Linked DNA regions of Homo sapiens: region 1 is linked to region 2. The links are contacts of gene promoters, found by promoter capture Hi-C in blood cells and fetal thymus (Javierre and others, 2016). All regions are on one chromosome and are shown on one strand. Each heading gives the region's core, a stretch centred on a gene start or on the middle of the fragment in contact. The rest is flanking DNA. Distances are from core to core; before and after follow the strand shown.

Region 1 (4,195 bases), core at 1,603-4,102, 500 kb before region 2:
GATGTTCCCCAAGATCTGAAAGCACACAGGGTGGGAATAGGAGCTAATGTGAGTGGCCTGACACATCCAGTCACTCATCAGTCTGGAGGAGCATATCACAGCTAGAGGCATAAACAGTGGACAAGACAAAATGTCTTAATAACAAGAGATCAAGAAAATGCTAGATACATAAAGCCAAGTGGTCCAGAATCCAGGGGCGGGATGGGGCGGGCTGGGGGAAGTGGGGGGAAAGGAAACCCTAAAAGAAGCCAAACTAGGTTGGGCATTGCCTCTACCCCCAGTGACGCTCACCTGCTTGGGTGGAGCTCACCTGTAGAGCTGGGGCTTCTCCAGATTTGCAAACAGGTTTTGATGCAACCAGGAGCAAACTTAGGTGGGGGCATGAATGTTTCTTGTTCACAGAACCACCTGTATAGAGGATTCTTTCCCCGCCTGACCTCCAGGTGGTGGAACACAAGGGGCTGTTCTCGAATGAGGGATGTTGGACAGTGCTAGCAGAGAGGTCACCTCTAGTCTCACCTCACCAAGTAATGAGATGATCACATCTCATTACTTGGGTCTGGCCCAGGAACATCTCCTGCAATTTGTAGCAGGCAAGGTCATATGAATAAGGAGAGGGCCACGACTGATTCCCATTCCAAATGCTGAAACTCTACACTCATTTTGGTGGGGATAAGAACCGACCAGTGGCTGTATTTAGGGTGACACAGAATGGTGTGACAAAGTAATAGTGTAAAACCCACAAGTGCAGGAGAAGGGGATGGGTACCTGGTAGGAGAAATTATGTCAGAATTCAGTCATGAGGTGGCCCAATCACCCTCCTGGTAGGAGGCACTCTTGAATACTGTGTGCCAACATGTCCTCTGGTCACCAATCCAAGCAGGGTTGGTAGCAGACAGGAGAATTTGCATGATCTCCAATGAAGACCCTCTAAACTGCAATAAGACTGGGACTCCTGGTCTCCAGGCAGAATATGGGGCCAGAATCCGGTGAAAGAGGAGGAGAATGGGACCTGAGGTGAGATTCTGTATAGAGCATGATGACGTGGGCCACCTCAGTCAGTGCCCACACCTCACATGGGGGCTCTGGGAGGGTGGAGCTGGGACTGAGCGGTGGGAGTAGGGACACCCCACAGTCCCCAGGGCATCCCTGCCCCTCCTTCTTCAGCTCATCCTCCTGGATCATCAGATGTCCACTCTCTCAATTCTGTCTTCTTTTTCTCTTTATTTTCCCTCTCCCTTATACCTAGCCTCTTGGATTGGTGGCTGGTAGGGACTGTCTTTAACAGCCATGGTAAGTCTCAGTGTGACCTTTTTTTTTCTCCTGCCTGTGATCAAGTGAGTTGGCATCTTCAGAAAATTTTGTATCTTCAGATCTTCAAAGCTATCTTCTTCATTTCTTGCATAAGGAGATTTTTTAATTACCTGCTTCTTGGTCTATGTGTACAGTGGACTGAAGGATTTGAGCATGTTAAAATCAGACAACTAAGGTCTTTAGTAAACACACATACCATGTGTGCACATGAACAACACGCTTTTGCAAGCAAAACAAGCGCTTGTACAACTGCAAATTAGAGTGGTCTAATACCATTTATGAGAATAAATGATTACATTTCCTCCCTTCTTTATAGTTTGTTTCTTTGGTATTTTTTTTTTCCTGTATAGTATTACAGAATGGCAAATTATCAGAATCTTGAATTTATAATCATCAAATGAACTGGATACAACAGCATAAATAGCTGTTAAATGATCATATATTCAACACACATAAAATGTTTTGCATAAAGTTATTTATGACAGAATTCTCACAGATGGAACATGAAACACAAGATCTATCTAGCTATGAGAAATTTCTACCAATCTAGTTTTAGTTTCAAAACCACTGCACTAAGGACTTTTTATCCACAAGGTGGCAGCCATTTAAAGGAAAAGAATTTTCTAAATTGACTCATGCACTGCACATCTATATCTGACATCTGAAGTTTATTTTTAAGAAAGAAAAACATAGTTCAGGTAAGGATAATAAAACACATGAATTCCAGTTTCTAAATGTTGTGATCATATTGGGAAATGTTCATAAATATGCCTGTTGAAGTGCTCCATCTGAGCAATACTGGCTAGAATTCAGTAGTTCTCTATGAATCAGAGAATTCAAACTTTTGAGGCTTGTATTTGGAAAACCTCACCATGTAGCCCCAACCTGCTGTTAAAAACTTTTCTCCAGTTTTATGACCTTCTGGTCCCTTTGCTAAAGCCAGTAATCTACTAGTCTCCACACTCAGGCAATACCTTGTTCTCCATCTTCAATGTCCTCCTCATTCCTTTAATTTCCATATGTCAAAATCCTACTCATTTCAAGATCCAACTCTAAATCCACTCCTTATACAAAGCTTGGCAAGATCTCTCCCCACCCCTACCTCATCCTGGGTCTCCACAGACATCTGGTGAACTAATAAGCCCATGTGTTCTAGGTCACGCTGTCTGCTTTCAAATCCTGGCTCCTACACTTGCTGACAGAATCAACTTGGGAGAACAGCTCAACTCCAGGTGCCTCAGTGTTCTTATTTGTACAGTGAAAATAATGATGTCTACCTCAAAAACTGTTTTAAGGACCAAAAGAATGCTTGTGTATCATTACAATTGTGTGTGTCTATATGTAACAAAGCAGCTTAAACAAATATAAGGGTTACTTTTCCAATAACATTTGGATTAGGCCACTTAGAGTGGCAACCAGCCTCCTTGTATTTTCCTGCTTGGCAAATCTCAGGCTGTGGTTTCATGGTCTCAAATTGGCTGCCATACCACCAGGCATTATGTCTACATTCAAAGCAGAAAGAAAGGAGAGGTCAAAGAACAAAAAACATTTGCCAGCTGAGTCTGGCATTGTTTATCAGAAAAACAATAGATTTCTTACAAACACTGTTACAGAGACTTCCATTTACATCTCATTGGCTGGGTGGCTACACATAGCTGTAAAAGAGCCTGGGAAATTAAATTTTTATGGCTAGATGCACCATAGTCCCAAATCAAATTAGAGTTCTATATAAAGAAAAAAGAGGAAATGAATATTGGTAGGCAATCAGGGCATTAGCCATGGGACTTAGCACATATATATATGAGGAAAACTACAAAACTCTGATGAGAGAAATCAAAGAAAAACTAAATAAATGGAAAGATGGCCCATGTCTGTGGATAAAAAGGACTCCATATTGTCAAGATGTCAGTTCTTCCCAACTCAATTTATAGATTCAATGTAATCTTATTCAAAATCCCACAGTTATTTTTTGTGTATTAACAAACAGATTCTAAAGCTTATATGAAGAAGCAAAAGACCCAAAATAGCCAACACGATGTTGAAGGAGAACAAAGTTGGAGGACTGACAATACCCGCTTCAAGACTAAAAAAAACTACAGTTATCAAGACAGTGTGACATTGGCAAAAGAAGAGAGAAACAGATCAATGGAACAGAACAGAGAGCTCAGAAACAGACTCACATAAATATGGTCAATGAAAGAGCATAGATAATATTATAGATAATATAATAATAATGGATAAAAGATAGTCTTTTCAAGAATGGGGCTAGATTAATTGGACACTCACATACAAAAATTGAACCTGGACACAGCTCTCAAATCCTTCACAAAAATAAACTCAAAACGGATTACAGATGTAGATGTAAAATGCAAAACTAGAAAACTCTTACAAGGTAACATAGGAGAAGATCTAGATAACTTTGGGTATGACAATGACTCTTTAGATACAGCACCAAAAACATGGTCCATGAAAGACATAATTGACAACTTGGACTTTTTTAAAATTAAAAACTTCTGCTCCACAAAATACACTATTAGGAAATTGAGAAGACAAGCCATAGGCTAAGAGAAAATATTTGCAACAGATACATCTGCTAAAGGAATGTTATCCAAAATATCAAAAAACAAGATCTTAACACTCAACAATGAAAAAAATGAACCATCTGATTTTTTGAAATGGGGGCGGGAGGGGGGTGTAAAAGATCTGAGCGGATACCTCACCAAAGAAGACAGGTGGCAAATAAGCATATAAAAAGATACTCGGCCGGGCGCGGTGGCTCACGCCTGTAATCCCAGCACTTTGGGAGGCCGAGACGGGCGGATCACGAGGTCAGGAGATCGAGACCATCCTGGCTAACACAGTGAAACCCCGTCTCTACTAA
Region 2 (4,458 bases), core at 756-3,255:
ATACTAGGGTATGTCATCAATAAGCTGATTATTTATTTTTATTTTAAATAGAGTCTCCCTATATTGCCCCAGCTGGTCTTGAACCCTGGGCTCAAGTGATCCCCACGACCTTGGCCTCCCAAAGCTAGGATTACAGAAGTGAGCCACCGTGCCTGGCCTCAAGCTGATTATTTTGCAGGGATTTGAGGCATGTTGGGCAAAAAGGAGTCCTCCTTCTCCTCCTCTTCCTCTACCTCTTTCTTCTCTTCCTCTCCTTCAATGAGCTTTCAGGGTACCAAAAAGTAACCAAGAAAAATTATGGTAATTGGAGAGGAAAAAGATAATTACAAGAACAAGGAAATGCAAGCTGGTTTAACTAATATCTGATTCAGAGCTTCCCATGCGAACCCAAGTATTCAGCTTTCATTTCTAAAGAGATCATGTTCCCTCGATTGAAAAAATAAAAACAGACAAATTAAATATCTGTCTCTAAATATTCTCTAAATCTCTAAATTTTCTAAACTCTTATTTGTAATATTATAGTAGAAAAGTACCCAGTCTTATGTAAGAAACACAGATTAATTCAGCTTTACTCAAAATGTTGGTAAGTGTAATAAAAATAAGAGGTAAATTTGTCAGTGAGGTGGTGTTATATTAAAACACAAATCTACTACTCTTGCTTAGGTAGAACAGTCCCAGATTTGGCAACTAATAATAATGTGAGAATAAATAGAACAAGTGTAGAAAACAGACACTAGAGTTTACCTTCCCCTTAAAGCAATTTGGATTATGGCTTAAAGCATATATCATAACACATATGTTAAGAAATATCTTGTATGATACATATGTTTGCAATACCTATGTTAAATTTTAATCCATATGCTTTGCTAATAAAAATGCTAGTATTTACACATGATGGTATTGTGGATATAAAATGAGGGCTAAAATGGCTCAAGGATTTCCTTACATTTTATGTATGAGAGCTATGCATTTTGTTAATAATTCTTTTTAGTTTCCAATTTTCTAAAGTCTGAAATGACAGCTGAGGAGCTGCATTTGGTTTTCAAATGAATGATAGGTACCAAAGAGGATATGACTAAAATAGTGAGAGAGAAAGCATTAACACATATGGGATGTATGCTTTTTGCCTGAATAACACTACCTCTGTTTCAAGAAGTAGCACTTTAGATTGATATAGTCTATTATATATTTCTGTGGGCTGGAAACACAGATATTTTAATTTAACCTTAGAAAATTAAAGATTATGAATTTTTGTATGCCCACTTCTGGAAAGTAGGCAGATTTTTCTTGAAAATAGCAGGAATCTCATTAACTCCTTTTACTTAAAACCTGTAAGTGACTTCAAAATGTGCTCTTGAAATATAAATCTAGTCATAAAATATGCTCAGTGATAATGTTATTCATTCAAATAAATTAAGCCAAATAAAATCTCAAGAGCCCTCCTCTTCTTCCTCTTTTTACAACAATAAAGCTATACCCCACATTAAGACCATTAGAAAAACTCAAGAGGCAATTCCAAGGAGTTATCTGGCCCCTATGTTACCTCCACATGCAAGTTATAAGAATGAGAAATCTGAAAAGCTCAGCATATAAAATTTGATAACCTTTAGCTAAAATGGCTAAGAAACTTCAAAAGGCATACACTTTTGCCAAGCAAAAGTTTTCTCTTAAGTAGTTACTGGAAAGTTTATAAAAATTTCTCATCCTTAAAAAAAAATTAGAGAAGTCAAAATACCACAAAACAAAACAAAGGAAATATTTGGGGGAAAGAACTCACTTTGTCTTAAAGCCGCTTCTTCCTGTGATTTAAACAGTACGAAAGGAGAATATATGTTGATTATTTTTCCTCCAATCCACATGCATGTCAACTCCAAAAGGAACAGAAAGTCACCAGCACCATCTGAAGATCCCTTCCAACTGCATGCAGCTTTTTCAACTTTGCAGGAGAAAACAGAAGGGTCCCTGCATTTCCTCCAAGTCTTATACCGTGTACATGACTCCTACTGGGCTGAAAAAGCACTATTTGTCAATTTTTACTTAAAACTATGAGTAACAAATTCTCTGCAGGACATCCTTAAAGGGAAATTCTGCCAGGATTAGCATTCGAAGTATCTGGCTAAGCTCCAAAAAGTTTAAAATACACAATGTTCACACAGACGCATACACACTTGAGAAATTTCCACTAACTAGGCTAAATTAAGGGCATATTTATAAAAATAATACTCTAAAAGGATGATGTATTTTCTGTTTCCTCAATCTGTTTTTGGCTTTGTTTTCTTTGTTTTCTGGTGGTGATCAGAACCCTTCTTTTAGGTTAGAAATGTCTGAACCGCTGAGCTTTTCTTTTGGACATTGTCTCTTAGAATCTCCTTTTGAGGCCATCTGGAAAGGGATGAGGTCCCATGCTCTTACCTGCAAAATTATTGGTACCTTAAGAGATGGCCCCCTGGATTGTGGCCTCTATCTCTCCCTTCTTGGGAAATTGGGGAACTCTGAGACATAAGTTTGAGTAGAATACTCAAGGTAGTTCCCTGCTCTCTGGACTTGCAGTGTGGACTCAGCCTTCCCCGCTCTGCCTGCTTCCTGGTGAGCTGGCCACAATTGTGACATCACATCCATGGCTCTATGACTTCATAAAGCATAAACTCATTGAGTCTTTTGAAATCTTCAAAACACAAAAAGTGGACAGAGATGTCAAGAGTTGGATCTGAAGAAATTTTTGGATATTAAACCAATCCATAATAGGTATCCTCAGTGGGGCACACTGATTCATAAGGCAAGTGACATTTTCTCTTAGAATCTCCATTTGAGGCCATTTCTTCAGTTTGGAAGGCAGGATGAGAGAAGAAATTCTGCCTTAATCCCAGACCAAACTTAAACTGTCCTTGTTCTAACTGCTAAAGGAATGAAATGTTAATATCTTCTAAGGTCAAACTCGGGTATATACAGTCAAAGAACTTGAGCTAGAGAAATGCAGAGCCAGTTAACTGTATGTTTTGTTATTCACTTGACTTTAATGATTAAGACATTATGAAAATGAACATATGGCGACTAACAACAATAAATTTGGATTCAGCAAAAGGACACAAGTATATTTCATTAGTAATAGATTTTAATCCTTAGGACACCATTGCTAAACAGGTACTGCCTGTATTTTCCTTGTTTTATGGGCAAGGAAAGCAGTCCTTGAGATGTAAAAGTGCCTGGGACCATCACCCTCTTTATTTGCTCCCATGCTTCCTGAGAGGGTAATCTACATCCACCAAGTCATTCCAAACCTACTACATTCTGAGCCTTCTTCTCCCTCCCAACTTATTGCAATCTGTCTTTCACTTGAACCGCTCCAAAAAAGCTTCATTAAGATCATATACAACCTTGATTAGCAACCCAAAGAGTATGGTCTTCAGTCTTACCGAAAAATTCTCATCTCTGGCCATGTCTATTTCTTTCTGAAATTATCTTCCCTTGGTTTTGCTATGTTACACCCTTCTGATTTTCTGTTTGCTCTTAGCACCCTCACTTTCTCTCTATTCACCTCACTCTTCCCTAGAGCTTTATCTTCTGTTCAGTATGCTTCTCTGCAGACTTTCCATCACGTTCTTCATCAAAACAATGAACAATTTTATACAACATGACTCCCAAATGTGTACTTTCATCTGATACCACTCTTCAAGGTTCCAGACCTGTATCCCGCTATCTATTAGAAAACCTTGTCTAGGGGTCCCCAGCCATCTCAAACTCAACAGTCCCAAATATCCTTATTGTCTTCTCCCCATTCCAAACTTGTTAGTTTGCTGTATTTCCTACTTCAGGGAATGGCACAATCATCCACCCCTTATGTTAGAGTATTCCCTTTCCTCATTTATCCTCCACCATCCCCATCATTGTCCACCTTCTGTAGGTTCTAGTTTGTTAAATGATCTTTCTCAAATTTGTCCTCACCCCTGCATTCCATGTCTCACATGTCTCACTCAGATTATTCTGTCAGCCATAAAATAACTGGCATCTGCCTCAGCCTGATCCCTTTCTATCCTTCTCTATAGAAAAATATTATTTTTAAATAAGTTTGTTAAATTATAAAATACATGCTTCTTGCAGATAATCTGGAACAGAAACTGGAAAACATATACAGAAAATGTAAAATGTAAAATGATTTGCAATCCAAGACAGCCCAGACCAAATCTTTGTGTACCTCTTTAGGCTTTGTATCATTCATATATTAATGATACAGAGAAATGCTAAAATTTTTTGTAAATATATTGCATAACATAGTTATGCAGTATATTTAGTTAGAAAACCAAGACCACATTGTATATACTTGTAGAAAGTGCGAGATATTTTTCTTTTCCATTACTAGGTTTATGGTTGAGGCCCCTATAAAAAAAGGCAAATTAATAAAAGTATACAAATTATTTAATGTAAGTTTTTATGGGACATGGGAGCCTTTCAGAAATGAAG

What was found. The method cuts DNA at HindIII sites, captures the fragments that hold promoters and counts their contacts. A CHiCAGO score of 5 or more calls a contact.
Region 1: a fragment that was not itself captured here is called in contact with the fragment with the promoter of FHL5 in region 2 in 3 of 17 cell types (total B cells, activated CD4 T cells and naive CD8 T cells); the score reaches 7.6 in total B cells.

Annotation. Positions count from the first base shown.
Region 1 is chr6:97,057,362-97,061,556 of GRCh38, reverse strand. The region is part of intron 4 of KLHL32 (kelch like family member 32); the gene reads right to left. Among named protein-coding and RNA genes, the nearest start is that of KLHL32, 130 kb to the right of the region's middle. The HindIII fragment of the contact is 921 bases long and covers 2,392-3,312 here.
Region 2 is chr6:96,560,675-96,565,132 of GRCh38, reverse strand. It overlaps FHL5 (four and a half LIM domains 5), which reads right to left and starts at 2,005. Exons shown (of 6, transcript NM_001322466.2): 1 at 1,778-2,005. The HindIII fragment of the contact is 3,763 bases long and covers 1-3,354 here.